Regions from separate parts of the Homo sapiens genome. Here region 1 is linked to region 2. Evidence: promoter capture Hi-C in human tissues and cell types (Jung and others, 2019). All regions are on one chromosome and are shown on one strand. Each heading gives the region's core, a stretch centred on a gene start or on the middle of the fragment in contact. The rest is flanking DNA. Distances are from core to core; before and after follow the strand shown. Region 1 overlaps PHF21A (PHD finger protein 21A). Region 2 holds the start of ACP2 (acid phosphatase 2, lysosomal).

Evidence for each region. The method cuts DNA at HindIII sites, captures the fragments that hold promoters and counts their contacts. A contact is called where the count stands out against the background at its distance.
Region 1: a contact is called between a fragment that was not itself captured here and the fragment with the promoter of ACP2 in region 2, in 1 of the 25 tissues and cell types used here (dorsolateral prefrontal cortex).

The regions. Positions count from the first base shown.
Region 1 is chr11:46,109,651-46,114,941 of GRCh38, forward strand. All of the region lies in intron 1 of PHF21A (PHD finger protein 21A), which reads right to left. Among named protein-coding and RNA genes, the nearest start is that of PHF21A, 9.2 kb to the right of the region's middle. The HindIII fragment of the contact is 6,770 bases long and covers 284-5,291 here.
Region 2 is chr11:47,247,516-47,252,781 of GRCh38, forward strand. It overlaps ACP2 (acid phosphatase 2, lysosomal), which reads right to left and starts at 1,299. Exons shown (of 11, transcript NM_001610.4): 1 at 1,161-1,299; 2 at 523-618; 3 at 126-212. The coding sequence starts at 1,274. It also overlaps a transcript of NR1H3 not described here. RefSeq lists enhancers at 765-854, 985-1,494 and a silencer at 1,575-1,742. The HindIII fragment of the contact is 13,067 bases long and covers 1-3,500 here.

The sequences.
Region 1 (5,291 bases), core at 2,419-4,918, 1.1 Mb before region 2:
ACTACACCATAAACACACACGTAAACACATGTCAAGAATTTGTCTATTGGGCCAGGCGTGGTGGTTTAGGCCTGTAATCCCAGCACTTTGGGAAGGTGAGGCAGGTGGATCACTTGAGATCAGGAGTTAGAGACCAGTCTACCCAACATGGTGAAACCGTCTCTACTGAAAATACAAAAATTAGCCGGGTGTGGTGGCACATGCCTGTAGTCCCAACTACTCGGGAAGGCTGAGGAAGGAGAATCACTTGAACCTAGGAGGTAGTGGTTGCAGTGAGCTGAGATGGCCCCCCTGCACTCCAGCCTGGGCAACAGGGCAAGACTCCGTGTCAAAAAAAAAAAAAAAAAGTACTGGTCTATTGGGAGCAGGGTGGATCACTAATTTTTTGGTTCTAACTCATTATTTAAAATTGTATAATATTAATATTATTAACATGATACAGATAAATATCTTAAAACCCAGCCCCTTATTGCTGATTAAAAATTCAATTTACATACACAACTTTAGTAATATAAAGTACATTCATGAGTATTATCTTATCTAATCCTTTTAATATCATAGTGAAGCAGGCCCTTATTATTATCCCCATTTTACCACTGGGTAAACTAAAGCCCAGCAAGGATGAACTTCCCAAGAGTGTACAGCTACGTGACAGGAGTACACTTAAGACCAAGTCTTCTGACATCATCACAACTGTTTCCTTTATACTGGCCTGGGGCATTTCATTAAAAAAGAAAACTGTGTTCAATAATTTAGGTGTGTCAAAGGTCTCTATACTGAATCTACATGGCTGCCCAGTTTTACTCTCCTTATTTCCTCTCCTGATTTCCAACTTTAGTATTTCAGTAATCACATGGGTACATATAATGATAAAAATATGGAATGAGAATTCCTACAAACCTGATATTTTCTATATTGGCCATTAACACCAGGGACTATTTTTCTCCTTATATTTAGCCCTTTGTATTAACTCCTTTGTAACTGCTGAATTTATTTCATTTTAATATTAGGTCTTGAAAAGACAAATTGATGTCATATAAATAAAACAGCTTATAAAGTAGAAGCATATCAGACCAGATTCCATACATTTTGGACACATCTAAGGAATCTATTTAATGTCTAATCTACATATTAACAATTTTTTTTTTTTTTTGAGACAGAGTCTTGCTCTGTCTCCCAGGCTGGAGTGCAATGGCACAACCGCAGCTCACTGCAACCTCCGCCTTCTGGGTTCAAGCGATTCTCCTGCCTCAGCCTCCCGAGTAGCTGGGATTACAGGCACCTGCCACCACGCCCAGCTAATTTTCTATTTTCAGTAGAGATGAGGTTTTGCCATGTTGGCCAGGCTGGTCTCGAACTCTTGACCTCAGGTGATCCACCCGCCTCAGCCTACCAAAGAGCTGGGATTACAGGCGTGAGCCACCGCGCCTGGCCATATTAACAAATTTTAAATCACAACTATGTGGGGGGGGAGGCTAGTATTATTACAGCAGATTGGTTTGCTATATAAACAAGTACTTTAAAAAATATTTCTTGGGCCAGGCGTGGTGGCTCACGCCTGTAATCCCAGCACTTTGGGAGGCCGAGGTGGGCAGATCACTTGAGGCCAAGAGTTAAGAGACCAGCCTGGCCAACATGGTGAAACCCCATCTCTACTAAAAATATAACAATTAGCCAGGCATGGAGGTGCATGCCTGTAATTCCAGCTGCTCGAGAGGCTGAGGCATGAGAACTGCTGGATCCTGGGAGGCAGAGGTTGCAGTGAGCTGATATTGCGCCACTGCACTCCATATCCAGCCTGGGCAACATGGCAAGACTCCGTCTCAAATAAATAAATAAATAAATAAATAAAACTAAAGGCAGAGTTTTCTTAAATAAACATGGTAGCCCTCAGCAACAATATTGTAAGAACTCCTCGCAAGAGAAAAAGCTGGAATAAGATACTGGCTAAGCAAGTAAGAAAGGCACTGCCCTGCTTCTGCATACATTCAAACTAAGACATATACATTGCAGCTTACACTTACATTTTCCAATATCCCCAGGCATCCCTTTCCCTTCTCAAACAGCCAAAAGGAACCAGCCATGCAAATAAAAATACAAGTTCAAGAGCCTAAAAGAAGTCAGTGTCCTAAAAGAGAAAATTAATGTAAAGAATTAAGATTTTTTGAAACTACACTTTCTTTCTGGGGCTGTTTACTGGCCTCCAATACATCAATCCTGTAACACTGTGAACTACAGTGATAGATTGGTACATGCTTCTAAACACAACAGAATTTTTCCAAGGTTACATACACTGTAACAAAAGGGGCATTTTGCAGCATCTTATTTTCCTTAATCAACTAGTTTGGATATTCTAACAGTGCAAACATTGTAAACAATAAATTTTCATTACCTTTTGAACTTTCTGAAGTCAACCAAAGGCTTGTGGTATGGATGCAATGAGTACTAGACAGGCAGAGCTGAATACTAGTCAAAATATTCAGTTACTGGTGTGATAGTCCTTTTGGGGGCATACATCACTTAGGGAGAAACTGAGGTGCAAGGACATTTTACACACAGCAAAAACATTCTCAGGAATTTGTCACATCATTACCATAAGCCAAAAATCTCAAGGTCTTAGAACAGCCTGAGCTTCTGATCAAATTATATTGTAAAAAGAGAGGAAAAAAATGTGAAGCGTGCTATTTTTTAAAATAACAGTAACTACTACTACTGCTGCTGCTGCTAATTCTAAACGTTTACTGAGCCCTTATTATGTGCCAAGCACCGTGCTAGGTACGGTCATAGATTTTAACAATTAATCCCTGTAACAACCCTCTGATATTAGTTAATAAAATTAAAGTAGAATCCTCACCAAAAAAATTTAAACTTTCCAAATAAAAATATAAATAAATTATTAAAGACATTTCACCTCTTTCTCTGCCTCAGACTACATTTTCAAGTATTAAATTTACACTAAAACCACATTTATTTTCAGGAATTCCAGTTAAAGCGTACAGATATTCAAGATGTTGACAATTATTACAGAAGAATCACAGAACTCTGAAATTAAATACTGGCACAGAAAACCTTCCATCCAACCTTACGGAACAACTATCCCCATTTTAAAAAAAAAGGAACAGCATATATATCAGGCTTGATAATAAGAGGCTTCTCATGCCCACACTAGCAATGAATGATGCCATAATTATAAAGAGACCTGTATCGCCACATGCATAAAAATAATTTACATCTGCTAAGTCAAGTTTTCAATATATTATTTTGTGTGTAAACCTTATAGTAGCTGATAAAAAATACAATAAACTAATCTAAGGTAAACTAAAACACTAGGTTGTTTCTGAAGACTCACTTTAGAATTTGAGCAGCATAATAATCATAATATTAGTAATCAAACTACTTAGCAGAAAGTTCTTAGAGGGCTGGGAAGCTGTGTATAATAAAATGGAGCAGACAAGAAGGAAGGGTTTTCCGTACTGTTTAAATCAACTACAGGTCCCAGCATGCAGTGCTCTAATCTGAAGTTAAGCAAAAACTGCAATGCATACTGGGACTTGTAGTAAGTAAACCACGTTATCACAGCAAGTTTCAAGAAAGTCTGAACTATCTAGCACAATTTGACTATATCTTATTATCAGAGTCTAATCAAATTTAAATCAAATTTGTATGTTCTCTGATGTGGCACACAGTTTCTCTAGCACATACCGGAAAAAGTATCAATATTTAGACCAACATTTTCACATTAGAAAAATCTTACGTAGGAGAAGCACAGAAAAAAATGCTGAAAAAGCAAAAAAACTTGATGAATAAAAAATATAATTTTTGAAATAGTTTTTTAAAGTTTGAATGGATCCATTTCAACATTCTCTAATCCTCCCCCACAAAAAGTTTAATTGTTTTGGCCGGGCGCGGTGGCTCACGCCTGTAATCCCAACACTTTAGGAGGCTGAGGCGGGTGAATTACGAGATCAAGAGATCGAGACCATCCTGGCCAACATGGTGAAACCATCTCTACTAAAAATACAAAAATTAGTTGGGCGTGGTGGCGCACGCCTGTAGTCCCAGCTACTCAGGAGGCTGAGACAGGAGAATTGCTTGAACCTGGGAGGTGGAGGCTGCAGTGAGCTAATATCGCACCACTGCACTCCAGCCTGGTGACAGTGTGAGATTCATTCTCAAAAAAAAAAAAAAAAAAAGTTTAATTGTTTTAACAGGTTGCTTTTTAACAATTATTCAAGATGTATTTTATAAATAATTTTTCTTGAAGAAAATTCTCAGAAGCAAACATTCCCCATATTCTAATATTGCCCACCAGGAAATAATTTTTTTAGTAATACGCACACACCCCATCACAAAAACAAACAAAAAACACTGAAGTTCTGCTTTTGTCAAGTCCTTACTCAATATTTATGCCCTCCATTCCTCACCTCTAATTCCCTACACACACACACACACACGCACACATCCCCACACACACACGCTTCTACAAAGAACACTTAGAAAAACAGTATTCCAACTACAAGCCCACTTCTCTCATCCACTGACCTCTTCTGAAAACACAAAAGATTTTTTAAGCTATCAGTAACACGTCCAAACACAAGCTGATAAGTTTGAGCTAGAATTTACATATATACAGTTGCTACACACCCTCCTATTTTCTGCAAGTCTGTGGAAGGAGGCTGGGAAAGAACTAAGTGCAATCTGCATCAGGAGGCCTAACACAGGTGGTGGGTTATTTTCAGGCAACAGCACCTTCACAAACATGTTTTGGAATATAGTCCAAGAAATTCCTAACAAGGAAAGATAAGCTGGCACACAAATTTAACGCAATCCAGCTAAAAATCATCTGCAACACATGCTACTACATTTCACCATAAAAGTGACGGGCTACTATAAAGGATTTGAAGCTTCGTCAATACAACATACTGTCCATAAGGCCAGAGATAGCAGTTGCCATGGTTACTATACCCACTTTTATCAGGAAATTACTGTCATTACCCCAAAGTTTTGGGTACTTATTTAAAATTTAAAAAAAACACACACAATTTAGGGTTCTGACTGTTAATTGAGTGAAATAATCAACTACTGTTTGATTTGTAAGTATGTCGCTTTGGAGATGCACATGGTTAACAATACTTGGATCTGCAGCAGAAAAAAAATCAATTCCTTTCTGCTGCTCCTTCTCCTCAAGTACTGACAGTTTGTATTCTCAATGCAGCCAAAACAATAAAACAAAACCCATCTTTTTGGCTTCTGTGTTTAAGTTATTTTTCCCCTAGGCCCACAAACAGAGT
Region 2 (5,266 bases), core at 49-2,548:
CTGTAGTTGTGACCAAAAATACAAGAAGGAGGCCAAAGTGCCCAGCCTCAGCCTTAGGCTCCCTGAGGGCAAAAGATGAGGGCAGCATACCTTGTTCCCCTTGCCTCTGGAGCTCCCAACCTTACCTCTTGCCGGTGATAAGAGGTGTTTAGGAAGCCGTGATAGCGCTGCCGCAGGGCCTGGCCCAGTTCCCAGTGCTGTAGCATCCCCTCCTGTGGGCAAACCCAAGGGTTAAGAGGGTCTAGAGGGAAGGGGTGGCTTCAAGCCCCATGGGGTTTAGGCCCTGTTGCTTTCCAGGTTCACGCTTTGCTGGAGTCAATTAATCTGATCCCAGAAGTCTTTCATTAAGTGGCCAGTCATGCACAGCAATATCATGGGCACAGAGATTAAGGTTATGAAATCTGGTCAAAGTCAGCACCCATATGGGAAAAGGCAGTTTAGTAGGACCCCAAGTTTTGTAGACTGCTCTAGACGTCGCTCATTCTGCAGCTCATCCTGAGGAAAGGCTGGCTTCTGACCCACCTTGGTTAACTGACCAAACCCCTGGGGCCATTCTTCTTCCTGATAGGGGTCCTTGGGATATGTCTTCACTGGTGAACGGTCTCCATGGCGGTACAGCTGAGAGAATAAAATGGTTTGCCTATAGGTCAGAAGCATCCCCTTGATAGGGACCCAGAGCCTACCTTTTGCCCCATGTTAGGGAAGGAAGTCTCATTCCCTCTGGGAAGCCTACTGGCTGCAAAAGACCCCAGCTAGGAGTCAGTCACTTCTTCCAGATTCCAGAGATTCTAACTTAGCTAAGCAATGCTACTGGAGACCATAGGCAAAGCCAAGGTACAGGTAGGAAGGGAAAAGAGAAGTGAAAGCAACGTATGTGGTGGGGACAACTGGGGAAAAAAGATAACCAAAGGCTTCTTTAGGGATGAGTCTTAACCATTCAACCACTTCCCTGTCTCAAGGCAGACTCACCCCGACGTATTCGGTCATCCTGACTCCCATAAGCCAGGGCTCCAGGTCAATCCTGAATCCAGCCTCCCAACTACCCAGGCCAGTCGTCCCCTCCTAAACCAGCTGTTCCTTCCCGAGATCCTCGACCTCCACCAGCTGGCCTTTGCCCTTTTAGCTTCAGGGAAGTCTTTGGTGAGCCCATCTCTCATTACCAAGGTAACGAAGCGCAGACTCCGGGCCCGGGTGGGCGGCATCACCACCAGGTTCACGCCGAGAAGGAGCTGGAGGAGAGCCGCCCGGCTCCAGCCGGACCGCTTGCCCGCCATCACCGTTGTAATCTATGCAGCAAACAAGCTGGAACCCGCTGGGTGGCACCTGCAAGCAGCCGCCCGGACGCACCCGTAAGGACACACGCCGGAAGTGCGTTCGCCGCCATCTTACTTAGGGACCTGCTGGGGTGCGGGGAAAAGGCGCAGTCTCGGTGGGATTGCGTGCAGGAGGGTCGTGGTCTGGCTGTGGCGGAGGAGCATAAGAAGGTAACGCGACCTGGCGCGGCAGACAGGGCTCGAAGACCTCATCTTGATTAAGAAGGCCACAAATTCGCGTTTGCCTCTGCTCGGAGAAATCCCTTACCAAGGTGGCACTTGCAGTGGGCGGGACCATGTCTGGAGAACCAGCGTCCCCTCCAGGCTTGACCCCATAGCTAGATCGGGTGCAGAATTGAGGCGAGGGATGGGAAAGTAGAGGTCGCTTCTCTCCACGCCCCTGCCTTTGTGGGGAGATTGAGCCCTGGCCCTGTTCTCCAGGAGATGTTTTGCTTGGGGTGCAGGACACAGTATGTAAACAACCCTTTGGACTCCGTGTGTCCTTGAGGTTGCCCCAGTCTGGCCTACCGTTCCTGCCCTGCACAAAGCTTCAGTAGCCCTCTCACTTTCCCTTCCAGTCCTTTCCCTGTCCTCCCTCCCCTCCACTTCCAAGTTTTAGTTAATTAGAGTCAAGACGTCATGTCATGCCTCTTCCCAAAGGAGTTGGGTTGCACAGGATGTTCAGACTTTACAAACCCAAAGCACTGAATCCCTGGGGGAGGAATTTCAGACCAGTGGGGAGGTATTTTGAGGTAAGGGACAGGCGCATATCATAAAGTGGGAGTAGGTGGGGTTTCCACAGAATCAATGGCCCTCTTGGCATTGACCATTAGGATTCAGGTGCAGCCAGTTTGGCCTCAGGACTTTGTGACTCCTGTGACGGTTGCAGGTCAGATCATAGGTCCTGGGGATGCTTTGATTCAGATCTGCCTACTGGAAGCAAATCTCCTCAGATCTTTGGGAAACAAAACTGATCAGGCTTGGCCTGGGCGCCGTGGCTCACCTGTAATACCAGCACTTTGAGAGGCCGAAGCAGGCAGATCACCTGAGGTCAGGAGTTCGAGACCAGCCTGGCCAACGTGGCGAAACCCCGTCTCTACTAAAAATACAAAAAAAAAAAAATTAGCCGGGTGCAGTGGCGTGCTCCTGTAATCCCAGCTACTCTGGAGGCTGAGGCAGGAGAATCGCTTGAACTCGGAAAGCGGAGGTTGCAGTGAGCTGAGATCACGCCACTGCACTCCAGCCTGCGCGACAGAGTGAGACTGTCTCAAAACAACAACAACAAAAACCTGATTAGGCTTGGTGTGGTGGCTCACGTTTCTAATCCCAGCACTTTGGGAGGCCAGGGTGGGAAGATTGCTTGAGCCCAGGAGTTGGAGACCAGCCTGAGCAGCTTAGGAAGATCTCCTCTCTACAAAAAAAAGTTTAAAAATTAGCTGGGTGTGGTGGCACACACCTGTGGTCCTAGCTCCTCGGGAGGCTGAGGTGGGAGGATCACCTTCAGCCCAGGAGGTTGAGGCTGCAGTGAGCCATGATGGTGCAACTGCACTCCAGTCTAGATGACAGAGCAAGACTGTGTCTCAAAAAGAAGAAAAGAAAAAAAAAGATCAGGATTATCTGTCTTTATTTTGTCCTAGGACTCCAGATTCAATTATTTATATATACTTCAGGATTTAAACTTTGCTTCCAGAGTTGTCATGGAGGAGGCCAAGAAGCAAATAGAGTAAGAGCCAAAGCCTGGGTAGCCAAACAGTTCTTAACCTTCTTATTTAATCACAAGCCCCTTTATGAATCACATGAAAATTTTGCACCTCTCCTCCAGAAAAATGTTCACACATATAAACACACACATGGAATTTTGCATATAATCCCAAATGGTTCACAAAGACCATTTATTACAGGTTTCATAAATCAGCATCTCTGAATACCTGATTTAACCTAGTCCTCTTACTTTACAGCTTAGGAAACAAACCTAAAGAGAGGAAGTGACTTGCCCAAATTCACAGTTTGGGCATGGGCACAGTTTGAGAATGGATTAAAAGTCAAGTTTTGGCCGGGTGCGTGCTCACGCCTGTAATCCCGGCACTTTGGGAGGCCGAGGCGGGTGGATCACGAGGTCAGGAGATCAAGACCATCCTGGCTAACATGGTGAAACCCCATCTCTACTAAAAATACAAAAAGTTAGCCGGGTGTGGTGGCAGGTGCCGGTAGTCCCAGCTACTCAGGAGGCTGAGGCAGGAGAATGTCGTGAACCCAGCAGGCGGAGCTTGCAGTGAGCGGAGATCGTGCCACTGCACCCCAGCCTGGGCGACAGAGCAAGACTCCGTCTCAAAAAAAAAAAGTCAGGTTTTGTGATTTTCAGTTAAATAGTCTATAATGGGCTGCTTCTTGCAGGCTACTCAAACTGCATTACTAAACTGTAATTGGTGATCCCGAAATCCTTTCAATAAAGAGGTATCTGTCAAAGGAAACCTTTTCAAATTAGTTGGACTAAACGGGACCTAGGCCGGACATGGCTCACACCTGTAATCCCAGCACTTTGGGAGGACGAGGCGGGTGGATCACCTGAGGTCAGCAGTTCAAGACCAGCCTGGCCACCATGGTGAAACCCCATCTCTACTAAAAATACAAAAATTAGCCAGTCGTGGTGGCGTGTGCCTGTAATCCCAGCTACCGGGGAGGCTGAGACAGGAGAATCACTTGAACCCAGGATACAGAGGCTGCCGTGAGCCGAGATTGTGCCACTTCACTCCAGCCTGGGCAACAGAGCGAGACTCTGTCTCAAAAAAAAAAATAAAATAAAGAGGGCTTGGGTAATTGGCAAAATGCTGCATATTAGTGGTAGTGGGAGGCAGTTGAGTGTTTTGTTTTAATGGGCCTCTTACTCCTTGCAAACTAGCCAGACCATTGTACTTTCAGAGTGTAAATCTTTGGCTCACCAAATTTCAGCTATCTCTCAAATTCAGCTTTTGCTTTTCTTCCCACTTGCTCAAATATGTCTATATTCTTTGTGCATGCAAGTATCCCACGTAGGAGGGATTGATGAAGCAGATACTATTTCAGTTTTTATAGGGAGAAACTATTCCAGGAAGGGTGGGGATTACAGCGCAAGTAGATAGTAGAGCCTGAAGCTGAGCCCTAGTTTCTTCACCCCTTTGCCTTCAGCTTTTGCATTTTCTGCCAGATGATTCTGTGGTTCTTACACTTTGGTTCGTAACTACAGGTGCAAAAAAAAAAAAGAAAAAAAAAAAACACATGTAGATAGATGGATATGTGGGCCTATCCCAGATCAAATAAATCAGAATCTCTGAAGGTGAGGACAGGAACCACTACCATATTCTGTGTTGGCAGAAGCAAACCTAAATCCAGGTATGTTAGCCATTTTTTTTCCATCTGAAGAGGCAGTTTTTGTTTTGTTTTGTTGTTGTTGTTGTTGTTGTTGTTGTTTTTGAGATGGAGTTTTGCTCTTGTTGCCCAGGCTGGAGTGCAATGGCGTTATCTCGGCTCACAGCAACCTCCGCCTCCCGGGTTCAAGCGATTCTCCTGCCTCAGCCTCCCGAGTAGCTGGGATTACAGGCATGTGCCACCACGCCTGGCTAATTTTGTATTTTTAGTAGAGACAGCTTCTCCATGTTGGTCAGGCTGGTCTCGAACTCCCGACCTCAGGTGATCTGCCCATTTTGGCCTCCCAAAGTGCTGGGATTACAGGTGTGAGCCACCGCACCCACCCGGCTGTTTTTTTTGTTTGTTTTGTTTTGTTTTTGTGACAGAGTCTCCCACTGTCGCCCAGGCTGGAGTGCAGTGGCACAGTCTCGGCTCACTGCAAGCTTCACCTCCCAGGTTCACGCCATTCTCCTGCCTCAGCCTCTCGAGTAGCTGGGACTACAGGCACCTGCCACCACACCTGGCTAATTTTTTTGGCTTTTTTTTTTTGTATTTTTAGTAGAGACAGG